6 separate regions of the Homo sapiens genome follow, and regions 1, 3, 4, 5 and 6 are each linked to region 2. Evidence: promoter capture Hi-C in 16 types of primary human blood cells and fetal thymus (Javierre and others, 2016). All regions are on one chromosome and are shown on one strand. Each heading gives the region's core, a stretch centred on a gene start or on the middle of the fragment in contact. The rest is flanking DNA. Distances are from core to core; before and after follow the strand shown. Region 1 overlaps TMC3 (transmembrane channel like 3). Region 2 holds the start of TLNRD1 (talin rod domain containing 1). Region 3 overlaps TMC3-AS1 (TMC3 antisense RNA 1). Region 4 overlaps IL16 (interleukin 16). Region 5 overlaps TMC3-AS1 (TMC3 antisense RNA 1). Region 6 holds the start of STARD5 (StAR related lipid transfer domain containing 5).

Region 1 (3,662 bases), core at 871-3,370, 340 kb after region 2:
CTCTCCTATTCCCAGGCTTGAACTTGTCTCTTACGTCTCGGGATGGTTTGGCTCTTTTGTTTATGATTCCTGACTCTCTCACTTGGGTGTGATTTGCACTCAACCTCTTATCCACTCCGCATGTGGCTGCCCAGGGTATGTGTTCTACCTGATTAAGCCCCGGTCCCTGAGCCCTAAGCTAGTGTCAGGGAGTTTGGATGCCCAGAGCTCCCCTGAGGGCAGCTTAGATCTGTTTGGTGTGCAAGGCCCTGTACACAGTTCAGAAAAGAGAATGAGGGGTCAATCTAGTTACTTTCAACTAGTACTCTCTGTTGGTCTGTTTCTCTGTCTCTCTCTGTCTCTGTCTCTCTCTCTCTCTCTCTCTCTCTCATGAAAAAGACTTGACTAAAAGAGAACAGAAGATTTCAGAGAGCACAGAATGTAGTAGGAGAGTGATAAGTTGTGAAACTTCTTTATCTTTGTCTATCCACAGACATACATACATATAATAAATATACATACACATATATAACATATATAAATATATCAAAACATATCTCTGAATGTATTAATATATGTGTACTGTCATCAGATAAAATGCATTGTCAAGTAGGTCATGAGCAAAAGTTTGAAAGCCACTGATATAGACACACATAACCATATGTCAAAGTAAAATAACTGAATCAAAGTATTTAGAATGTGTTATGAATTCACCAAAGTTGGTAAAATTAAAACAGTTAAAAGAATAAGTGTTGGCAAGGTTATAAAACACTTGGAACTCTCATATAATGCTGCTAGACATGTAAAATGGGGTGTTCATTTTAGAAAACTTTTTGGTGCTATTTGCTAAAGGTGAACATATGCATGCCCTGTGTCCCAGCAATTGCATTCCTAGGTATATATGCAACAAAGATACTTAGGATGTTCAAGGCAGCATTACTCATTATGGCTAACAGCTGGAAGCAACCTACATGCCCGTCAACAGGAGCCAGGATAAAGAAATTGGGGTATATTTTCTCAGTGAGTTGAATCTCACAAACACAATGTTGCGTGTAAGCAGTTGGGCACAAAGGAGCACATACTGTGTGTGTGTGTGATTACGTTTACATCAAGTAAAACCCAGGCAAGCCTAATTATGCCATTAGAAGTTGGCAGTGATTGGAATGACATACAAGTGGGCATGCTCTGGTTGCCATTTGTGTTTTGTTTTTTGATCTGAGTGCCTTGTGTTCAGTTTTTGAAAACTAATCAAGCTAAACATTTACGATTTGTGTACTTTTTTTCTAAAGGATTATTAAACTTCGGCAAAACGTTTTAAAAGTGTCATGAGTTCAAGAGGAGTAATGATTCATTGAAAGAGTAAGACATTGGAAATGGCTCTTGGAGGAGACAAAATTGGAGGACAGGCAAGATTTTGACAGGAAGAGAGTTGGGGGGACCCTTTGCTAGAGGACCCCTGGGTAAGGCAGGCATGGATTATATATATGTATATATAGTTATCTGCATGATCAGATCTTATTCTTACTCACCTTGAGGCTCGAAATACTTGCTGGTGGGGCACATTGCAGGTCAGCACAGCCCAGCTTCTCAGGTACATGAGCCCAATGAGTTTGAGAACGTTGAACGCTGGGAGACATGGGGAGAAGAAGGCCCCCATCCTGGAACCATGAGGAAGGTCAGTTTGCATCTGTTCTCTTTCAGCCTATCTCCCAGGACTATGGAAGCCCCATGCAGGAACATGGTTCTGACACTTTGGGGATTATACCCTAAGCTTAAAGGACTGGAAAAGCCCCTGAAGTCCCGAGACCACAACCCTCCACCTTCTAAAGATAAGACAAGTCACTGAAGGTGGGTATTGATCCTATTTTAAAATATTATATTTGCAAAGGACAACTGTTTGTCTCTCTTTTCACAGCTGAGCAAAGGAAAATCCTCTGGGAAGGAGGCAAATAATGGATAACTACTATTTGGGGCCAGCTCCTGGTTTTGCTTGTCTATGATGAGGACTGTGCTAATAAATTACTGCCTTTCAGGTTTAATCAACATATTTTGGGCACCTAGTTTTGCTGGATATGGCATTAAGCATCCTCACACATTTCAGTTTGTTTACTCTTCTGCAATAGTGAGAGGAGAGGTAAATATCCAGTTGATAGACAACAAGGGCAGATATGGGGAAACCAAAGACATGTTGCTAAGGCTGACTCTATATCATCCAAACCTGGGAGATTTGGGGAATGAAAGAACTGAGCCCACAGACAAGAACCAGATCATCCCAGGGAAGCTGGGACTTATGGTCACCCTGAAAAGAAATGGCAGCTAGGCGACAAAACCCATGTCTTCAGACTTAAGTCTAAATCAGTTTATATTGGATACGTATTCAATCTAATACTTGTGGAATTTGGATTTAGTGGTATGAAAATAAACATGGACATAAGAGTATGTTTCCTAAGTAAAATGTTTCTAACAAGAAATGTTCAGTTATCATTATCTGTTGGATGTTAGGCAAGACACTAAGCTTCTCTGCACTTCAGTTTTCTCATCTTTAAAAAGGGGAAAATAATAGCAGTTACTTCATGGGTTTACTATAAGGATTAAATCAGTTACTACAGGTAGAAAAGTACTTGATATCTAGCACTATTAAATAAATGTCACCTATTATTTTTAATACTGTATTTGTAAAGATATTTTGCAAAATACAGTGGCTCTAAGAATTTGACAGGAGGCGTATTACTTTGTACCTCTCAATTGCCATGTATTTTACTGAATGATTATGAAGAGAATGTTTTCTGGATGTATGGAATATCCCAAGTTCTTGTTTTTTGTTCGTTTGTTTGCTTGTGTTTTAACAAATAGCACTATTCTGGTCCAACAGGTAAAATCAGCTCCTCAGTGTCTCCAAGGACAGGAATGCCATGGGCTGGGAGGCGCCATGGGTGAACAGACTTCCCTACTTCCTGCCTCCCCAAGGGTGGGGAGCAGTCTAGGGGATGGCTGTACTCCTGGGCCCAGTGTCTAAGTGAAAATTAGGAGGAAATGGAGGGAGGGTGGCGAGCGAGGACAGACTGGCCAAGGTCCCCCGCAGCCACTCCTGAAGTCCTCACGAGGGAGAAGCAGCCTCTCCTTCCAGCCTTCCCCAAGTCCTCCCTAAGAGTGTATTCTACTGGTTTCTGTGCAGATTTTTTTCGGCTGCGACCAATAGTAGCTTAAACATGGATTATTTTCTTTTTAATTTCTTCCTGCAAAATTCTTAGGAAACCATTAATAAAAGTAATATACATGTGAAATAATAATCTTGGAAACATCCCTTCTTAATGCTTATGTAACTGTGTTATGGTCGTGTCCCATCTAGACTAAGTAAATTAAAATCTTAGCCCAGATGAGATGTAAGCAAAGGCAAGAAGAAACTTTGATACCTACCAAATCATTCCTTGGTTGTAGACTAAATGTAGCACATTCTCAGCTATTTTGAATTCTCCATATTCAGGCTACAAGAGAAAATAAACTTGTGCATTAAACAAGTTCCAAAGTTCTTTGCATGAACCAATTAATTACAGACACCTATATAGACTTCTTTGCTCTTATGAACACTTAGAGATCAGTGCTTGTGGGGCCATCCCAGCAAATGGTAAATGTTAAGAAAGGGGTGGGGCTGGGCATTGTAGCTTATGCCTGTAATCCCAGCA
Region 2 (3,504 bases), core at 490-2,989:
CCGCCACCATGCCCGGCTAATTTTTTGCATTTTTAGTAGAGACGGGGTTTCACTGTGTTAGCCAGGATGGTCTTGATCTCCTGACCTCGTGATGCGCCTGCCTTGGCCTCCCAAAGTGCTGGGATTACAGGTGTGAGCCATCGCTTTCGGCCCCCTCTCATAAGTTTTTGGAGCTTAAGAAGGACTAAGGTGCAATCCCTGGGTCACCATGGAAAAACCTTGACTTATCCAGCTGTTTTTTTTTTCTCTTGTAGAAGAAAAAAAGGAATTAACCCTACATAATTACTTCCTATTTCAAGTCAGTTTTATTGACCTCGGTTTGCAAACTAAGTGGGCTCATCCGGATTCTAAAGATATTTAAGGATACTTTCAGTTATAAGTAGGATGACTATCCATCCAGGTTTGAACCTGCTGTTCATGGTTAATTTATTAATAGCATGTCTCACAGTTCATTCTCAGAAATGCTTGGATATGGCCGATAAATTGAAACGTCATCCTAGTTAAAAGTAACGTTTTTAACTGGCTGGAGAAAGGTGACTTGGGGTTCTAGGAAGGGACAGAGGAACAAACATTCTGTTGGCTCAGCACGCCCAGCCTGTGTTGGGCTGGGCACCTTAGAGGACCTGTTTCAGGACTGCGTGACTGGCGTTTTGCTGGGAGTAGCCCAGGTGTTTTAACCACTTCCTGAAGAACAAGGTTCGGTAAAAAGAGGCTGGGGCGTAGGCGTGGGTTCCTGTCCCTGCCATATGCTGTCTTCCTGATCTTCGGAAGTCACTTCAAGCACCTGATCATCAGTTTCCTTATCTGTAAAACTGGAGTAGTAATGTTTCCCTCCAAACGCCGTCGTATTTAATTCATTTAACAGCAGCCACTATTATTCCATTATACAGACGAATAAATAGACGTTATGAGAGGGCAAAGTGCGCTGATCAGGGCTCATAATAATTCTAACAGCTACTGTTTAGGAACCAAGTACTCAAGCAGCCTGTGCACAATCTCTAATTTCTAGAAGAGAAGACGGATACTTGGAAAGAGAACTTGAACAATGTCATGGAACTCATAAATGGCTTGAGAAAGGCTGATCCTAGGAAATCTGCTTCAGAACCCGCGCTCTCACTGCATAAGGCGTATTTCAAGGGAGGAACGGGCAGGCATCTAGCACCACTCTTCGGACTCCCCATCCAGTGCTCTTTTCCTCTTTTCGTTACACTGCACTGCTGGTCGGAAACCCATCGTGGAAGTGGATCAAACACAACAAAGGGCAGGGGGCGTTGGAAAACCGGGCGAAGTCGCGCAGACCGAGACGACCCACCGGCCCCAGCAAATCACCAGGGGCCGAAATCCAGTGTCCTCCTCCCTTCAGCCCAGAAGCCAGGTCACCTTTTAGACTTGCTCTCTTGGCGGGGAGGAAGCGTGGAGCCCCCTGGTCCGGCTAAGAGCTTACGTAAGGCCCGCGGGCGGCTGCGCCCCGGTCTCCCATGGGTGTGCGCAGAGCCCCCGGGCCGGAGCAGGCCTTCCCCTGTCCGCTCCCCCAGTCTCTCGGCCCAGGACCACGGGGGAGTTCAGGACCACCGGCCCCACGCCGGCAGCGTCCGCGTTGGGCGGCGGCGTCCCCCGCAGCCACCCAGCTTCCCGGGGGAGGAGCAGCGCATCGCGCAAGCATCCGGGAGCGGCGGAGGGGGCGGGAGGAAGGGCGAGAGGAGGAAGCGGGATTTAAACGAAAGGCGGTGACGCCACACAAAAGATTTCTATAGGCTCCAGGGAGGTTACGGCCGAGGCGGCGGCGGCGGCGAGCCCGGGGGCGAGGCGCGGACGGGAACAGGAAAAGCCTCCGGCAGCCCCTGCGGGCGGCGGCGCAGCCACGGCCGCGCTCCGAGGTGAAGCCGCGCGCGGAGAGGAAGCGGGTGTTTTCCCCTCTGCCTTTCGGCCCCCGCCCTTCCTTTCAGTTTCTGCCCGCTCGCTCGGAAGTTGGCGGTTGACAAAAATGGCAGGAGCCGGGGCCCGGGCCGGTTGCCGCAGCGCCGCGGGGACCTTCTGAGTTGGCCCGGTGGCAGGGAGACTCGTGCAGGGGCGTCCGATGCGCGGGGCCCGGGGCCTCGGGAGAGCTCAGCTGCTGCGGGCCCCAGACGAGGCGACAGGGATGGACTTGCGTAGACAGCCAGCGCCGGGCCGCCGGGCGCGCGGTCTGGGAGGGCGTGCCGCCGCGGCGCCGGGCCGCGCTCTGTGAACCGGCGAGGCGGGAAGGGGCCGCCGTGGTGCTCGGCACGCCCGGGCGTGTGGCGGGCGGGCGAGAGCTTGAGCGCGATCCGGGCGGCCGCTGTGCGCAATCAGTGCAGGCTCCCGCCCGACTCTGACTCGGCGCGGCCGCGACAGTGCCGGCCACACCCTCTGCCCCGCTGCCGCCGGCGCCGCTTCCCAAGAGCTGGAGGCAGGAGATGCGCCCGGGGCGGCCGCGCGTCCCAGAGAGCCAGCCCCGGCCGCCGTCGCGGGGAAGTGCCGCCTGGTGGGGTCACGGCGCCTGAAGCCCACGTGCGCCGCCGAGCCCGAGGTGGCCTCGAGCGCGGCGGCTGACAGCACAGCCCGCCTGAGCTGCCTCCCGCGCTCCTCCCCGAGGAAAGGATTTTGATTTCAAAGAAAGGAAGGAAGGAAGGACAACTCCCAGCTTCCCCGTCCCGCCCTCCCCGCTCCGAGGGCCGCGCCAGGCCATGCCCAAGAAGGCGGCGGCGGCGGCGAACCAGCAGAAGGGACTTTCCTGGCAGCCCGGCGACGAGGAGCGCGGACAGTGAGTTTGCTCTGCCCCGGTTCATGGTTCCTGCAAGCCCTCTAGGAGGCCGAAAGCTGCAGCCCCTCCCCTTGCCCCGAAGAGCCTTCCGCGTTCTCTCGCCCTCGGGCCCACCCCGCGCCGCCCGGGCTCCCGCCGCCGCAGCCCAGTGCCCTCTGCCCGCGGCGGTGGATGGCATGATGGTGCGGGGAAGGCACCGCGGCCTTGGCCAGCTGAGTCGCGACGGCCGCCGGGGCGGCGGCAGTGGCCGCGGCAGCGGCGGTGGTAGCGGGCTCCCCAGCGGCATGCCAGTGCCCCCCGGGCGCGATGGCTAGCGGCAGCGCCGGGAAGCCCACTGGCGAGGCGGCTTCTCCGGCTCCTGCGAGCGCCATCGGCGGGGCCAGCTCGCAGCCGCGGAAGAGGCTGGTATCCGTCTGCGACCACTGCAAGGGCAAGATGCAGCTGGTGGCTGACCTGCTGCTGCTGTCGAGCGAGGCGCGGCCCGTGCTCTTCGAGGGCCCCGCCTCCTCTGGTGCCGGCGCCGAGTCCTTCGAGCAGTGCCGGGACACCATCATCGCGCGCACCAAGGGGCTCTCCATCCTCACCCACGACGTGCAGAGCCAGCTCAACATGGGCCGCTTCGGGGAGGCGGGGGACAGCCTGGTGGAGCTGGGCGACCTGGTGGTGTCGCTGACCGAGTGCTCGGCCCACGCGGCCTATCTGGCCGCTGTGGCCACGCCGGG
Region 3 (3,455 bases), core at 72-2,571, 380 kb after region 2:
GCCTCGCACAACCTCAGCTCCCACTGGATCTCTTCCTTCAGCTCCTCTGAGCCCTGGGCCAGATGTGTGTACAGCTCCATGGTGAAAGCCACCAACTTTTCCAGTAGGTCTTCTGCATCTTTTGGGTGGGAGGTGGTGAGAAAGAGAGGTGGGCTCTATTTCATCCTTTTGAGGGGAAATGGGAAAATACCTCTTGTCCTCTACTTCCTCAATTTCACACCCAACTCTCCTTCCTAACTCCCAGTCCAGGCGATATAGAACAAATTCAGCCCAGTATCAGATACTACCTTTACAGAGATTTCACAACCAGTCTCACCATTGTGCAGATCCTAATCCCTGTTATAAATTCTATATATTGGTTCTGTTTCTCCAATTGAACCCTGACTGAAAAAGCTCTTCATGGCTACTGTTGCCTGCGAATTTTATCTCTTGAATTAGTAGATGGTTATACTGCTCTGCCAGGACTGTTTGACTTCCTGAACAGAAAGCGTAAATGGTAAAGTGTGGATTGTGATTAAATCATTGATGACCTACTACAGGTTGGTAGTTTGTTCTGTCTGAATTGCATCTTAAAGAAGCTCATTGAAATGTCTTATATGGTGACATACTTCCTTTTCTCCAGTGTTATTTAATGTTCTCTTATTTTTATAGCCCTTGACCTTAGCCTTTTATTTAAAGCTACTGAGGGGCTTAGATTACTGTTGCCATTTTTCTTGGGATTATGCTAATCCAGGTTTTCATTTTACTATGTCAATCTCCACTTACATTTTTTTTAACTCTGCTGGTTTCCTTTATAAAGTCACTATCTCTTCTTCTTCTCTTAATTTGCGTCCCTTATTTCAGAGACAATGATTTCATTTTATTTCACTGAGTGAGAGAAGCAAATGTCTAAAATTTACATTTTGCTTTCTGTAGAAAGCTCCTTTCTAAAATCTGCGTTTTTCTTTACCTCTGGCATGCTGCATTCATTTCCTTTTTTATGCTGCAGAATTTCTGTGTTTGCGCCCCCATCCTGTGAGTGAGTGTTCTCTGGCTTCCCTCCCTGTTCCCAGGAATGCTATGGGACTTCATCTTTCATATGCTTACTGGTGAAGGCTGCTGCATGATGACTTTGTAGGCTGAGGGAGTGGAGAAAAAGGTGAGGCTGGGAGCACTCTAAAAAGAAGAATTTGGTGTTTGTTCTGTTGACTCCTTCTTTCTTATACAGGAGGGCAGTTCTCTTCTTGTATTCCTTTGTTTTTGGTGTGTTGTTTGTGTGTTTGTTTTTTGTTTATTTTGACACAAAGTCTTGCTCTGTCGCCCAGGCTGGAGTGCAGTGGTGCGATCTTGGCTCACTGCAACCGCCTCCTCCCGGGTTGAAGCGATTCTCCCACCTCAGCCTCCAGAGTAGCTGGGATTACAGGTGTGCACCATAACACCCGGCTAATTTTGTATTTTTAGTAGAGCCGGATTTTCACCATGTTGGCCAGACTGGTCTCAAACTCCTGGCCTTAAGTGATCTGCCCATCTCGGCCTCCCAAAGTGCTGGGATTACAGGCGTGAGCGACCGTGCCCGGCCACTTCTTGTATTCCTTTGTTCAGCATGGCCTCTTCCTCAGGTCTTCGATGTGGCTTAGTGTCCCTCTCAAGAACTTTTCCACAACAGGGACAGGATCTCACCACAGCAGAGAGAATCAGAATCAGTGAAAAACACCCATGCCTGGAGACTTCTTGTTTAGAACGGCCACTCTTGTTTTGATCCTTCACATCCCCTCCAATCTAATTCTGAATTTTTTTTCTTTACTGTGGCAAAATACACATAACATAAACTTACATGTTACCGTTTTTAAGTGTCCAGTTCAGTGGCATTAAGAACATGCACATTGTTTGGCAATCATCACGAGTATTCATATTCAGGACTTTATTCATCTTCCTCAACAGAAACCCCCCATACCCACTAAACAACAAGCCCTCATTTTCCCCTGCCCCACCAGCCCCTGACAACCGCCATTCTTCTTTCTGTCTCTAGGAAGCTGATTACTCTAGGTACCTATGAGGGTGGAGTCATACAGTATTTGTTTTTGTGACTGGCTGATTTCACTCAGCGTAATGTCTTCGAGGTCCATTCATGTTGTGGTATGTGTCAGAAATTCCTTCTTTTTTAAGGCTGAATAATATCTCACTGTAGGCATATTCCACATTTTGTTTATCATTTAAATGTTTTTAAGCTATAGCAAGAAAGGGTGTGGAACAAGAAACGGTCCCTATCTCTCCCACCATCTTCATGTCTAGCCCATGCACCTCTGAAATAGTAGTGTTGGTAGGACTCTAGATACTTCCTATTAAATGGGCTACAAATTCCCTGTAGATGAGGGTTCTGACTTAGGGAACTTTCTTTAATCTCCTTCCATTTTACCAAGTCTCCCGGAAACTTCTTGAAGCATGATATAGTTTGGCTGGGTCCCCATCCAAATCTCATCTTGAATTGTAGCTCCCATAATTCCCACATGTTGTAGGAGGGACCTTTTGGGAGATAATGGAATCCTGGGGGCAGTTTTCCCCATACTGTTCTTGTGGTAGTGAATAAGTCTCATGAGATCTGATGGTTTTATAAGGGGAAACCCCTTTCACTTGGCTCTCTTTCTCTCTTGTCTGCCGCCACGTAAAATGTGACTTTTGCCTTCCACCATGATTGTGAGGCCTCCCCAGTCATGTGGAACTGTCAGTCCATTAAACCTCTTTTTCTTTTCTTTTTTTCTTTTTCTTTTTTTTTTAGATGGAGTTTGGCTCTTGTTGCCCAGGCTGGAGTGCAGTGGTGCGGTCTTGGCTCACTGCAACCTCCACCTCCCGGGTTCAAGCTATTCTTCTGCCTCAGCCTCTCAAGTAGCTGGGATTACAGGTGCCTGCCACCACACCCAGATAATTTTTTGTATTTTTAATAGAGACAGGGTTTGGCCATGTTGGGCAGGCTGGTCTCAAACTCCGACCTCAGGTGATCTGCCCACCTCGGCCTCCCAAAGTGCTATGATTTCAGGCGTGAGCCACTGCGCCCGGCCCTTTTTCTTTATAAATTACCCAGTCTTGGGTATGTCCTTGTCAGCAGCATGAGAACAGACTAATACAAAGCATTTAGTAAGTTCAGGCTCTTTTTTTTTTCTAGTTTCTAGAATTGGTGCAGATTTGCCTCTAATCATTTAAAAATAGTAAATATAATATTCTCCATTTCTGGTGGGTGGAATTCCCATATCCACAGCACTTTCTTTCCCCTTCCTCTCTCTGCTTGTGAGGGCCTCTGAGTTTATTATTTCACTCATTCATTACATAAATACTAAGTACCTGTGCTGTGTTGTGTTACAACATTAAATCATATGCTACAACATTTTCACCAGACAAGGTCTATGGGTTTTGGAAAAACTCTAGGCAGTTTCCCTGAATCCCAAGCAGGCTTGTTCAGGCTTACTATTTAGAGAAAATGG
Region 4 (3,624 bases), core at 1,120-3,619, 290 kb after region 2:
GAGCCCAAGGGTCCCGATTTCTCCATATCCTTGCCAATACTTTGTTATTTTCTTTTCTTTTTTTGAGACTGAGTCTCACTCTGTCACCCAGGCTCGAGCGCAGTGGCACGATCTTGGCTCACTGCACTGGGTTCAAGTGATTCTCCCACCTCAGCCTCCCTAGTAGCAGGGATTATAGGTGTGTACCACTGCACAGGCTAATTTTTGTATTTTTAGTAGCGATGGGCTTTCACCATGTTGGTCAGCCTGGTCTCGAACTCCTGACCTCAAGTGATCTGCCTGCCTCAGCCTCCCAGAGTGCTGGGATTAGAAGCATGAGCTACCATGCCCAGCCTCTTTTCTTTTTGTTTATAGTAGCCATCCTAATGTCCTAATGTGTGTGAGGTGGTAACTCAGTGTGGTTGTGATTTGCATTTACCTAATCATTAGTGATGTTGAGCATTTTTTCATTTGCTTTTTGGCTGTTTGTATATCTTCTTTGAAGAAATGTCTATTCAGGTTCTGTGCCCAGTTTTTAATCAGGTTGTTTTGTTGTTGTTGTTGTTGCTGAGTTGTAGGAGTTCTTTATATAATCTGCAACTCAACTATTTATCTGAAATATGATTTGCGAATATTTTCTCCAATTCTATGAGTTGCCTTTTCAATCTGTTGATGATGTCCTTTTGATGCACAGAAGTTTTTGATTTTCACATAGTCCAATTTATCTATTTTTTTGTTTCCTGTACTTTTGATGTCAAATAATTTATTTTTAAAAAACCTGTCCTCATTTTGAAGTGGGTTTTATTATTGTTATTATTTTACAGAAGGAAGAAATGGAGGCTCAGGAGGTTAAGTAACTTGTCTAGGTGTTCACACCTAGACAGTAGAGGAACCGGGACTAGAACACAAGCCTTTTTGACTCTAGGACTCATACTCTTAACTATTACTCCAAAGTGATAATAAACTGTGAGTCACAGCTCAGACAGTATAATAGTGATTGTGATTATTACGATATTGTTGATAATGATGATGTCATGACAGCATTGCCAAGAACGGACTAGCTCATAGAGATAACCTATGAAGTGGTAACTTTGCCTAGAATTTTCCAGCAAGTAGTGGGGAGAAGGTTGGAGAGTTGAGGGGGCCTCCTTGGGAACCCCTGCATTGATAGACTTTGGACTTTATCTAGAAGATACTGAGGAACCATTGATTCCCGGGGTATTTCTGGAAATGGAATTCATCAGCTATTTGCAGAGTGGGTTGAAATAAAATAATTTAGAATCCAGTGGCCCAGCTTTGGAGCTGGTACGGGGCTGGGAGCCTGATGCAGGAGCTTCTACTGTTTGTTTGAGGAGATGACTGATATTTTCTAGGTCTCTGAACAGCAACTCAAAGAAGCTGTGGCCCAGGCTGTGGAAAACACCAAGTTTGGAAAGGAGAGGCATCAGTGGAGTCTGGAAGGTAAGACAAATGGTGAACTTTGATGTAAAATATCTTTGCCTTCTTAGAAAGCTTAGGATTTATCCATTAACTCATCCTCTATCCAAGGAATAGTAACAGCATTTACCATAGACCAGCATAGTATGTAGACAAAGGCTGAAAACTAGCAGCCCACCAGCTAAATTTAGCTTATATTTTTGCTTTGTTTGGAAGACACAAGATTTTAAAAGCATCTGAATTTAAATTGCTACAAATGTGCCAGGCTCTCTCCAGCTCCCGGTGGTCTCCACCGTTCCCTTTATCCTGTACCAAGTTGCCATTCACACAATAGCCCCTGCAGGCACTTGAGTTTGCAGCCCCTAGTTTATAATAATAGAATATTAGAAAAACTAACATTTGGGAATATAATTCTGACATTTATTTAATTCTTATAATTCTTATAATAAATCAGAGACTATGCTAATTCATGCATTCACACATAATTTTTATGCAAATTTTATAAGAAAAAGTGAGGCCCTCAGAGACTCTCTTACTCAAAGTCATACCACTAGAGCACAGAGGCTCTGGAATGGAGATCCAGCTGGCTTGACTCCCATGCCTAGCCATTGGGCATTAATCACGTCTACCATGGAACATCCTTATGAAAGAACAACATGCAACCATTGGCACTGATATTGACAAGAAATTAAATGATCTGGGGAAATGTTCAGAGAAAAGAACAGAACACAATTTATTTCAGCTCTGGTTTATTATTTCTACCCACCCAACATGCATATATGCTCGGGAAAGCATGACAGAGAAACTCACCAAAATTTTGACAGTAGTTATTTCTGGCTGATAGGAACACAGGTGAAGTGAATTTTTACTTTCATTCCTTCCTCCTTGTGGCTGAGTTTTCTCTAAGGAGGATGCATTATTTCATGATCAGGAAAAAAAAAAAGAAAACTTTTTATTTAAAGAGAAAGTGAGTTAGGAGCTTGGCTGGCCTTGGTTCTCTCTCATGGGGCTCCTCTGGCTTTCTTGGTCTCTCAGAATGAGCTGGAATTTGAGCAAGAGACTAGATTTCAATCCTCTCCCACCCCTTCAAGCTGTGATTTTAGGAAAGGGGCACCCTTGACAGCTTACCACTAGAGAGAAGGGCCTCTCAAGGATGTGTGGGTAGCCCTAGTGCTGGAAACTAGGGTAGGGGGTACTGAGAACCAGGAAGGGCTAATGGGGAGGGAGGGAGGAAGGTGCAGTGGCTAAGAAATAGCGGCTTTCTGCCCTCACCTCACCCTCAACTGGAAAGAAATAGTGACTTCTTCGTGTAAGATTCAAAGTGCCTTGACAGGTAGTTTCTCTGTCTTTGTTATTGAGCCTCAAAATAACCCCAGTGACTTTAAAATTATCATCCTCATTTTACAGATGCAGAAATGGAGTTGGGTCCCCCAGGAAGCTGACTCTGAGATGGAGTTTGGTCTGCAGGCAGTGTCCTGGGGTTCACTACCTGTGGCAGGGAGGGGAGCAGGCAGGGTAGACAGAGGGAGGACGGAGCTGAGGTGCACACCCAACAGCTTCAGCCAAGCCCTGGAGCTCTGCAGCCAAAGTCCCCATTAGAGTTGTCCTATGTTGGCCAACATAGCTGGGCCTCTGTAACCCTATCTCCAGCAGTCCCTGGAGATGGGCTGCCCCATTGGACAAGGCAGCTGTCTGCAGCTGTGGCAGCCCCTGGAGGGACCCACAGCTGAAAGTAGTCTGCCAGCAGCACTCCCCACAGCTGGGACACCAAGCCCTTCCTCGATGGGTGATCTGGGTGGCATATCTCCATATACATCAGTCATAGGCTCAGAAAGCTTGAATGATTTTCCCAACCCAAAGTCATACAGCTCGCCAGGGACCAACACCAAGACTGCCATACTCCAGATCCACAGTGACTTCAGATAAGAAGCAGATGGCCGATGTGCAGTGTGCTGCCCGTGGCAGTCACAGGTGAGGCCAGGGGGTATTTCTGTTTTCTGAAGCTCAGCTGTGAAGATTCTCTTGTGCTTCCCACACAGGTGTCAAAAGGCTGGAAAGCAGTTGGCACGGGCGGCCCACCTTGGAGAAGGAACGAGAGAAGAACTCAGCACCCCCGCATCGCAGGGCTCAGAAGGTCATGATCCGCTCCAGCAGTGACAGCAGCTACATGTCTGGGTCCCCAGGGGGAAGTCCTGGGAGTGGCAGTGC
Region 5 (3,391 bases), core at 258-2,757, 400 kb after region 2:
GGAGGCTGAGGCAGGAGAATCACTTGAACCAGGGAGGCAGAGGTTGCAGTGAGCCAAGATCGCACCACTGCACTCTAGCCTGGGCAACAGAGAGAAACTCCGTCTCAAAACAAAACAAAACAAAACAAAACAAAAACAATAAGACGTGAAGTGTTATAATACCAATTTACAAGAAAGCATATCAAAAATGACTCATTGAAGCAGGTGGTTAGTGATTAAAAATTTAATGAATATACTACAAATCAGAAAAATACACTAGATGTAAATAATAAATAGAGCACCTGTGAAGACAGAGGTTGATCTGTATATGCTGAGAGAAATGAAGATACAAGAGAAATGATGTCACCAGCTGAAATGCTGTCACATTGTTGTCTTCATTCTTTTAGAAGAACTAAAGAAATAAAAGAATGAGCATCTGAAAATTAGATTGTATTGATAAACATTGATCCATTCACCCACCAGTCCCATTGTGTTCTGTTACAAAGTTTTTCAAAATGGCATTGTGAAATCTTTCAAGGGTTTGTGAAAAATAAGGTATAGCATCTCTTTGGTGAGCCAAATGAGTTTTTCTAAAATAAGCTTGGTAATTTTCACCCTAAAGTTGATGTATTTTAGTGTAAAAAATGAAGAGGTAGTGAAGTGTAATGGAGGGTGGGAGCCAGGCTCCTCACTGTTGGAGTGGGAAGTTACAGACGAGCAAAGGGAGGAGGCTAGAATAATCCATGGGTAATTGATTAGAGTGGGAGACATCTGTATAAACTCATATTTAGCTTAATATATAAATAGTACATGAATATTTATAGATGTATCTGTACATGGGTTATATAGATACGTGTATACATGTATTTCTCTATTTTGTCAGCTGAGAGGAACTAGAGGTAATAAATGACACCCAAGTAGTAGCAAGTAAAGTTAGAACTCAGATCCTGGTTTCTAATACCATTCTCTGATAGAAGGAATGAGGGCTCCTTGGAGCAATGGATGATTCTAAGGATGGAGGAGAAACATCTTGCAATGCTAGTAATAAGGAAATGCACAGAAAAACTGACACTGATGGGCCTATGCCAAGGATACAGGAACTGACAGAAAGCTCCCAATGGCCAAAGGCAGAACAAGCTGTGCAACAAAATAAACAAAGTGGTACTGAATTATAACCCAATATATAAAATAAATATTGATGGGTCTACACTGATATAAACAAAATGACTGCATAAATAAATAAATGGAGAAGAATAGCCAAATCTCCAGTGCAGAAGAATTTCAAATAATTTATGCAGATACTGTGAGGGTTAATTTTGTGTGCTAACTTGGAGGATGTTTTCAGATGTGATTAGCATTTAAATGGGTGCACTTTGAGTAAAGCAGATTGTCCTCCATTATATGGGTGGGTCTCATCCAATTAGTCGAACCATGAATCAAACCAAAAGACTGCCCTCCCCAAGCAGGAAGGAATTCTTCAGTGGACTGCCTTTGGACTTCATCTATATTCTTGGCTTACCTGAGTCTTGAGCCTGACAACCCACACTGCAGATTTTTGACTTCCTGGCCTCCAGAATTGCATGAGCCAATTCCTTATAATAAATCCTTCTCTCCACATATACACACACATACATCCTATTGGTTCCGATTCTCTATAGAACCCTGACTAATACAGATAATTTGCATTCAAGAAAAGTGAGCATGATTCGCATTCCTTACGTGTGGGCTGCATATACTGACTTCCTTCCAAAGAGTACAGTGTGGAAAATAGAGGGAGAAGAGTAACTTTACAGTGGAGAAGACTGGCAAACTACCTCAGCCAGGTGACCAAGGTCAACATCAACAATGACCAGTCATGTTGATGGTATGTATCCTTGATATCATGAAAATGGCACTGTACCTGTGATCCTCCTCTCCTACCCCATAATCCCAGTCTAATGAGAAAAACATTAGACAAATACAAATTGATGAATATTCTACAAAAATACCTGACCAACACTCCTCAAAAGTGTCAAGGTAATCAAAACCGAGGAAACTCAGAGACTTTCAAGGCCAAGAGGAGTCGAAGGAAACAGGACAATTAAATGTAGTATGGTATCCTGAATAAGATCTTGGGAGAGAAAAAGGACATTAGGTATAAACTAAAGCAATCTAAATGAAGTATGGACTTTGGTTAATGACAATGTATCTATATTGGTTCATTAATTGTGACAAATATACCATATTAATATAAGATGTTACTAACAGAGGAAACTGTGTGGGGTACACAGGATCTCTCTGTACTAGTTCCTTAATTTTTCTGTAAATGTAAATCTACTCCAAAATAAAAAGTTTGTTTAAAAAAAAAGAAAAAGGAGGAGGAGGAGGATGAAAAGATGGAAAAAATAAACTAGGGAGGCACCTTTTAGAGTTCTACTTCTCACAGCAAAAAGAACTACAAGTTATTCCACTACCAAGAAGCTTGCAGGGTTAGCCACAAAACCAATGATAAGTATTGTACCTGGGAAAATAATCAATTAATCTTTGCAATTCTAGTCAGATCATACTGTTGGACACCACATCATAGCAATGGCACATGATAGATTACAACAAATGCTATTGTTTAAAAATTATCCAAAATGTAGAAATAAAGCAAAAGAAGATTGCTCGTGCTTTCAATATCATATACCAGACCAGCATCTATCAGGCCCATCAAGCATTATTTCATTTTTTAAAAGATGGACTCTTGTTGATTAACTACTTTCTGTTAATTAAAGCCAAGACTCTGAAGTCACGTGTTAACTTGTAGATTTTTGTCTAATGGAGATGCAAAACATTAACTAGTTATATCTCTGACTTAGCAAATTTATTTTGGTATTCCTTTCCTAATAGACTGTGTAATCTTTTTTTTCTCTAATTTTTCTTTCAATCATTCTGTGCACGTTGCTGGTTTCCTCATCAATAAATCAACAGCTCATTGACACACATTTGCTTTATATTTGTATGAGTGTAATGTTTTTAACTTTTTTTTAAAAAATATGCTTTTATCGTGCATGTTCAAGGAGCTATTTTGTGTTGCAATTAGATGACATAGATCACTGGTATTTGATCATGCATGTTTGCAGTACATATATGAGAAGAAGCTCTTGGTGGCTTCTGTTTATCAAAGCAGTTCTTTAATCAAAGTTTTTAAAACCAAAAACTGAAACTAAGACCTAAAGTTTCTTTAAACTAGAAAACCTAGATATGTCATGAAGATAGCCACTGCTACTCAAATACAACTCGTACTTGGAAGCCAATCCATACATTGCCTTTCTCTTAAAAAGCACTAATTTACCAAATATAGAGCTCCTGACCTTGATTCAGTGTTCACAAAAATTGTAAAAATTTTAAATATAATCAAATCATGCCTACAGAGAATGTGTATTTTTAG
Region 6 (3,829 bases), core at 915-3,414, 320 kb after region 2:
GTGTGAGGATGATGCATAATTTCTCAAAAATCTGTTGGATGCATGTAAGCAAAAAGCGTGAAGACCCTCATACCAGAGGGTAACTGGGGTCATGCAGGTACGTGGAGCTGCTACTGGCCCAGGCTTCAGGGAAGTGGGTGCCAGGGGCTGAGGATCCTGTGTTGCCTAGTGCAGCAGCCCCACACAAGGAACAGGTATGCTCCCCGCAGAGACTCTGTTTGGGGCTTCTCTCCCTCTCTGAGTCATGAGGTTTCCCACCGGGAAACTGGGCTGAGGCAGGCCTCCAATGCTGCAAGCAGTGGGCAGCCTGTGCTTGCAGGACACACCCCCTTAACAAAAGGTATCACGGACCCCTTCCAGAAGAAATGGGAGGGGGTTACTATAGCCTGGCCCAGACACTATCTAGAGATAACATGCTTGGAAAGACTTACGTCAGTGATGCTTTGGATAATTTCAAAACCGGTCACATTCTCATCCCACTTCACTCGTAGGCCTCCAACAGCTGGCTTCACACAGTCCCACACCTCCTCTAGTGTCCCATATACAATGCCTTCTCCTCGGTACCTGGAGCACGAAAAGGAATTTGACCCCAACGCATCAATCAAACTTGTTATCTTGAGATTGTATCTAAGGACTAGAAGGTGGACCATGCCATGTCTGTCACTACTCTTTAGGACAGACTTGCAGAGAAGGGGCTGAAAGTCACTAGCCCCGCCTCCCTTCAGGCCTGCAGAAATGGACAGTAAGCTTTCACAAGAATACAGTTTGCTGGAAATGATTTCATTAAAAACAGTAAGGCTTTTCTGGAGGACAAGTGATCACAGGTTATAGGGTTGATTTGAATATTTTAGGAGGCAGGCCCATAAAGATACCAGGAAGGGTGCGGCACCTCTGGTAATCTTTGAACGAGGCATGCACTTACAGGTTCCCTGGAAACTCCACAGATGGCCTCCAGGAAACTGAAACTCCATTCTGTCAAAAGGCACAGAACCACAGAATTTTAGAGCTAGAAGGGCTCTGGTCACCTGGCTTAATCCCCTGTTCTACAGAAGAGGGGTAAGAGGCCTCAAGAGATACGACTCTCCAAGGCTGTGCAACCCATACGTGGAAAAGCTGGGACTAGTCTTGGGCAAAGCTGTCCCCACAGCAGAATGTGATGAAGAAAAAGATCTTAACTGGCTGACTCCAAGAGCCGTGGGTGGTTTTTAAAATTATCTTAAAAGCCACCAGGCATTCTGTTTCCTTGAGCAACCCAGGGCTACTTAATGAAAAGTCAGAAGGGTCAAGCAAAACTACTCCCATGCTACCCTCTGGCAACGACAAAGAGAGGGGTTCATGCTGTAATGAAAAGTCAGAAGGGTCAAGCAAAACTACTCCCATGCTACCCTCTGGCAACGACAAAGAGAGGGGTTCATGCTGTAATGAAAAGTCAGAAGGGTCAAGCAAAACTACTCCCATGTTACCCTCTGGCAACGACAAAGAGAGGGGTTCATGCTGTAATGAAAAGTCAGAAGGGTCAAGCAAAACTACTCCCATGCTACCCTCTGGCAACGACAAAGAGAGGGGTTCATGCTGTAATGAACACAGAAGAAAACCTTAGTATGCATCAGATGCTGGATCAGACTTTACTGGATTTAAACAACATGTAAAAACCTCCTTAGCTGCGACCACATTCTTTCATTTTGTTTTGTTTTTAAACACCTGCTTACCCCTTAAATGCAATTTATTTACTTTTACCACTGTCACAGAAACATCCAGTCCTAAACAGCATTCAACAGCCAGGTGACCTTGGGCAAGTCACTGAGTGAAAGGAACAGATACTTACCACCTGAAGTCATTGTGAGCATAACAGGCCCAATCTTTTTTTTAAAGAAGAAAACAATCCCCATTGGAATCCCTCTCAATCGGGTCCAGGGGATTGGGGAGCAGAAAACAACGGGGAGAGGAGGCGCTTGGGGGCTTCTGGGGACCCGGGCTCCACGAAGCCGTCTCCGCGACCCCTTCCCGCCCAGCTCCTCACTCACGCCTTCCCGGCAAATCTTCCAGCCTGCTGTGTCCCGCCGGTACTGGAGCATCTTCTCGGCCACAGCCTCGCTCATCTGGGCTGCCAGCGCCGGGTCCATTGCGTCGGGAGCTGCGCTTAGCTGCGGGGTCGCGGGTGTTATGAGCGGCGGCGCTGGATCCCGGGTGCCTGGAGGCTGGAGCTCTGGGAGGAGCTCGTAGCCCCGCCTCTTTCCGCGCCCCCGCTCCCGAATTGGTCCAGGCCCTCAGACGGATCCCGCCTCCCGGAGATTGGCAGGACAAGGAGACCGCGGGGCCAGGCTCTCCAGTTAGCGTCAGCGCCTGGGCGGGTCCCGGACGCCTTGGGCGGGCCGGGTAAGGTCCAGCCGTATCCGCCTCCTTCATGTCCCGCTGTGGGAGGGGCTCTGGAGCGCCGGGACTGTGAGATGGCCAATGACGGTCTGACCCGTTGGGCCGGGCCAGGTCGCGGACAACGTCGACCGTTTGTTTAAGAAGCGTGGACTCTTGTCCTGAGTGCACCGAGGCTTTCAGCCTGCGGGACAGTGGTGCGATTTGCATTAGAGGTAATATGCTAGGGCGGCTGCTGCAGGGTGGGAGAGGAAATGCGCGTGGAGACTGGGCGCGTGCAATGGTGGGAGAGGTGTGTGGCAGGGGTGCGGGGAGTGGGGGTGAAGAGAAGAGGACCCATCGTAGAGTGTTTAGGAGATGGAAGGTGAAGGTCTCTGCCCCCGATTGTGGATGTTCAGAAGGAGAAAGCATCATGACTCCCAGCCTTGGCCACCTGGCAGCTTACCTGAGATGGAGAAGAGATAGGGTGAGTTCAGTTCTGGGCATATTTAGTTGGAGGTGCCTGAAGGGCCTTTAGTGCAGGTGTCCAGGAGTCAATGCAATGCGCTGACATCTGCGAGAGGCCCGGCTTTATTAGAGATATGGGAGTTCTCTGCTTCCAGCTGCCCTGGAGCTGCGGGGAGTGAGCCAGGGTCGCATCTTCACAGCGTGAATGGCAAGGACAGCCTCGGTTTCCCCTCTTCTGCGCTATCACCAACTAAATATTTGAAAAGGTTAATACTGAGGTCTATTTCTTATCTTTCTTTTTTATGTACTTATTGTTTCCTTTAAACTTTCGATATAAATGTTTGGAAGAGTAGTGTAAACAAATTGACAACTTGAAAGACCTTTTTGGAAGATGTGAAGGGCAGCCAGGCTGTGAAGAAGACCTGGATGGGGAATTAGGGAGCTCAAGATCTAAACCCAGTTTCACTCATTATTCTTTGAGCTTCAGTTTACTCCAAGGTGAAATGGGATACATCATAAATGTTCCTGGCGGGGTCCGGTGGCTCACGCCTGTAATCCCAGCACTTTGGGAGGCTGAGGCAGGAGATCACTTGAACCTAGGAGTTCGAGACCAGCCTGAGCAGCATGGCGAGACTCCGTCTCTACTAAAAATTCAAAAATTAGCCGGGCATGGTGGCGCGGGGCTGTAATCCCAGCTACTTGGGGGGGCTGAGGTGGGAGGATCGCTTCAACCCGGGAGGCAGAGGCAGCAGTGAACCGTGATCGCGCCACTGCACTCCAGCCTGGGCTGCAGAGCAAGATCCTGTCTCAAAAAGTAATAAAAATAAACAAACAAACAAATAAATGTTCCCTATGCCCTTGTGAAGAGAGAGGGAAGTAACGCATGTAAATACTCTTAGGACCCATAAAAGAAAAGACTAGTAAATTAATCCCATTAAAAAATTAAGCACATCAAAATTTCATAAAAAGTTAGATAATATGAGAAAAAAATCGGGACACACTTTAACACATA

What was found. The method cuts DNA at HindIII sites, captures the fragments that hold promoters and counts their contacts. A CHiCAGO score of 5 or more calls a contact.
Region 1: a contact is called between a fragment that was not itself captured here and the fragment with the promoter of TLNRD1 in region 2, in 2 of 17 cell types (neutrophils and total CD8 T cells). The highest score is 8.0, in neutrophils.
Region 3: a fragment that was not itself captured here is called in contact with the fragment with the promoter of TLNRD1 in region 2 in 1 of 17 cell types (neutrophils); the score reaches 6.1 in neutrophils.
Region 4: a fragment that was not itself captured here is called in contact with the fragment with the promoter of TLNRD1 in region 2 in 8 of 17 cell types (total CD8 T cells, total CD4 T cells, activated CD4 T cells and 5 more); the score reaches 7.5 in total CD8 T cells.
Region 5: a contact is called between a fragment that was not itself captured here and the fragment with the promoter of TLNRD1 in region 2, in 3 of 17 cell types (neutrophils, naive CD8 T cells and total B cells). The highest score is 10.3, in neutrophils.
Region 6: the fragment with the promoter of STARD5 here is called in contact with the fragment with the promoter of TLNRD1 in region 2 in 7 of 17 cell types (neutrophils, naive CD4 T cells, activated CD4 T cells and 4 more); the score reaches 13.8 in neutrophils.

What each region holds. Positions count from the first base shown.
Region 1 is chr15:81,339,882-81,343,543 of GRCh38, forward strand. TMC3 (transmembrane channel like 3) reads right to left here. Exons shown (of 22, transcript NM_001080532.3): 15 at 3,397-3,464; 16 at 1,509-1,637. It overlaps TMC3-AS1 (TMC3 antisense RNA 1), which reads left to right. Exons shown (of 7, transcript NR_120365.1): 3 at 1,681-1,827. Among named protein-coding and RNA genes, the nearest start is that of TMC3-AS1, 17 kb to the left of the region's middle. The HindIII fragment of the contact is 744 bases long and covers 1,749-2,492 here.
Region 2 is chr15:80,999,184-81,002,687 of GRCh38, forward strand. TLNRD1 (talin rod domain containing 1) reads left to right here and starts at 1,740. Exons shown (of 1, transcript NM_022566.3): 1 at 1,740-3,504. The coding sequence starts at 3,089. It overlaps LOC128071545, which reads left to right and starts at 2,959. Exons shown (of 1, transcript NM_001414893.1): 1 at 2,959-3,096. The coding sequence starts at 2,959. The coding sequence ends at 3,096. RefSeq lists silencers at 1,368-2,057, 2,098-2,557, 2,908-3,037. The HindIII fragment of the contact is 6,287 bases long and covers 1-3,504 here.
Region 3 is chr15:81,380,879-81,384,333 of GRCh38, forward strand. The region is part of intron 6 of TMC3-AS1 (TMC3 antisense RNA 1); the gene reads left to right. Among named protein-coding and RNA genes, the nearest start is that of TMC3, 8.4 kb to the left of the region's middle. The HindIII fragment of the contact is 5,991 bases long and covers 1-3,455 here.
Region 4 is chr15:81,289,101-81,292,724 of GRCh38, forward strand. It overlaps IL16 (interleukin 16), which reads left to right. Exons shown (of 19, transcript NM_172217.5): 11 at 1,353-1,440; 12 at 3,456-3,624. Among named protein-coding and RNA genes, the nearest start is that of STARD5, 33 kb to the right of the region's middle. RefSeq lists an enhancer at 3,412-3,541. The HindIII fragment of the contact is 1,760 bases long and covers 1,490-3,249 here.
Region 5 is chr15:81,403,834-81,407,224 of GRCh38, forward strand. All of the region lies in intron 6 of TMC3-AS1 (TMC3 antisense RNA 1), which reads left to right. Among named protein-coding and RNA genes, the nearest start is that of TMC3, 31 kb to the left of the region's middle. The HindIII fragment of the contact is 1,860 bases long and covers 578-2,437 here.
Region 6 is chr15:81,321,977-81,325,805 of GRCh38, forward strand. STARD5 (StAR related lipid transfer domain containing 5) reads right to left here and starts at 2,165. Exons shown (of 6, transcript NM_181900.3): 1 at 2,025-2,165; 2 at 923-972; 3 at 432-564. The coding sequence starts at 2,123. TMC3-AS1 (TMC3 antisense RNA 1) reads left to right here and starts at 2,357. Exons shown (of 7, transcript NR_120365.1): 1 at 2,357-2,585. RefSeq lists a silencer at 2,657-2,706. The HindIII fragment of the contact is 9,334 bases long and covers 746-3,829 here.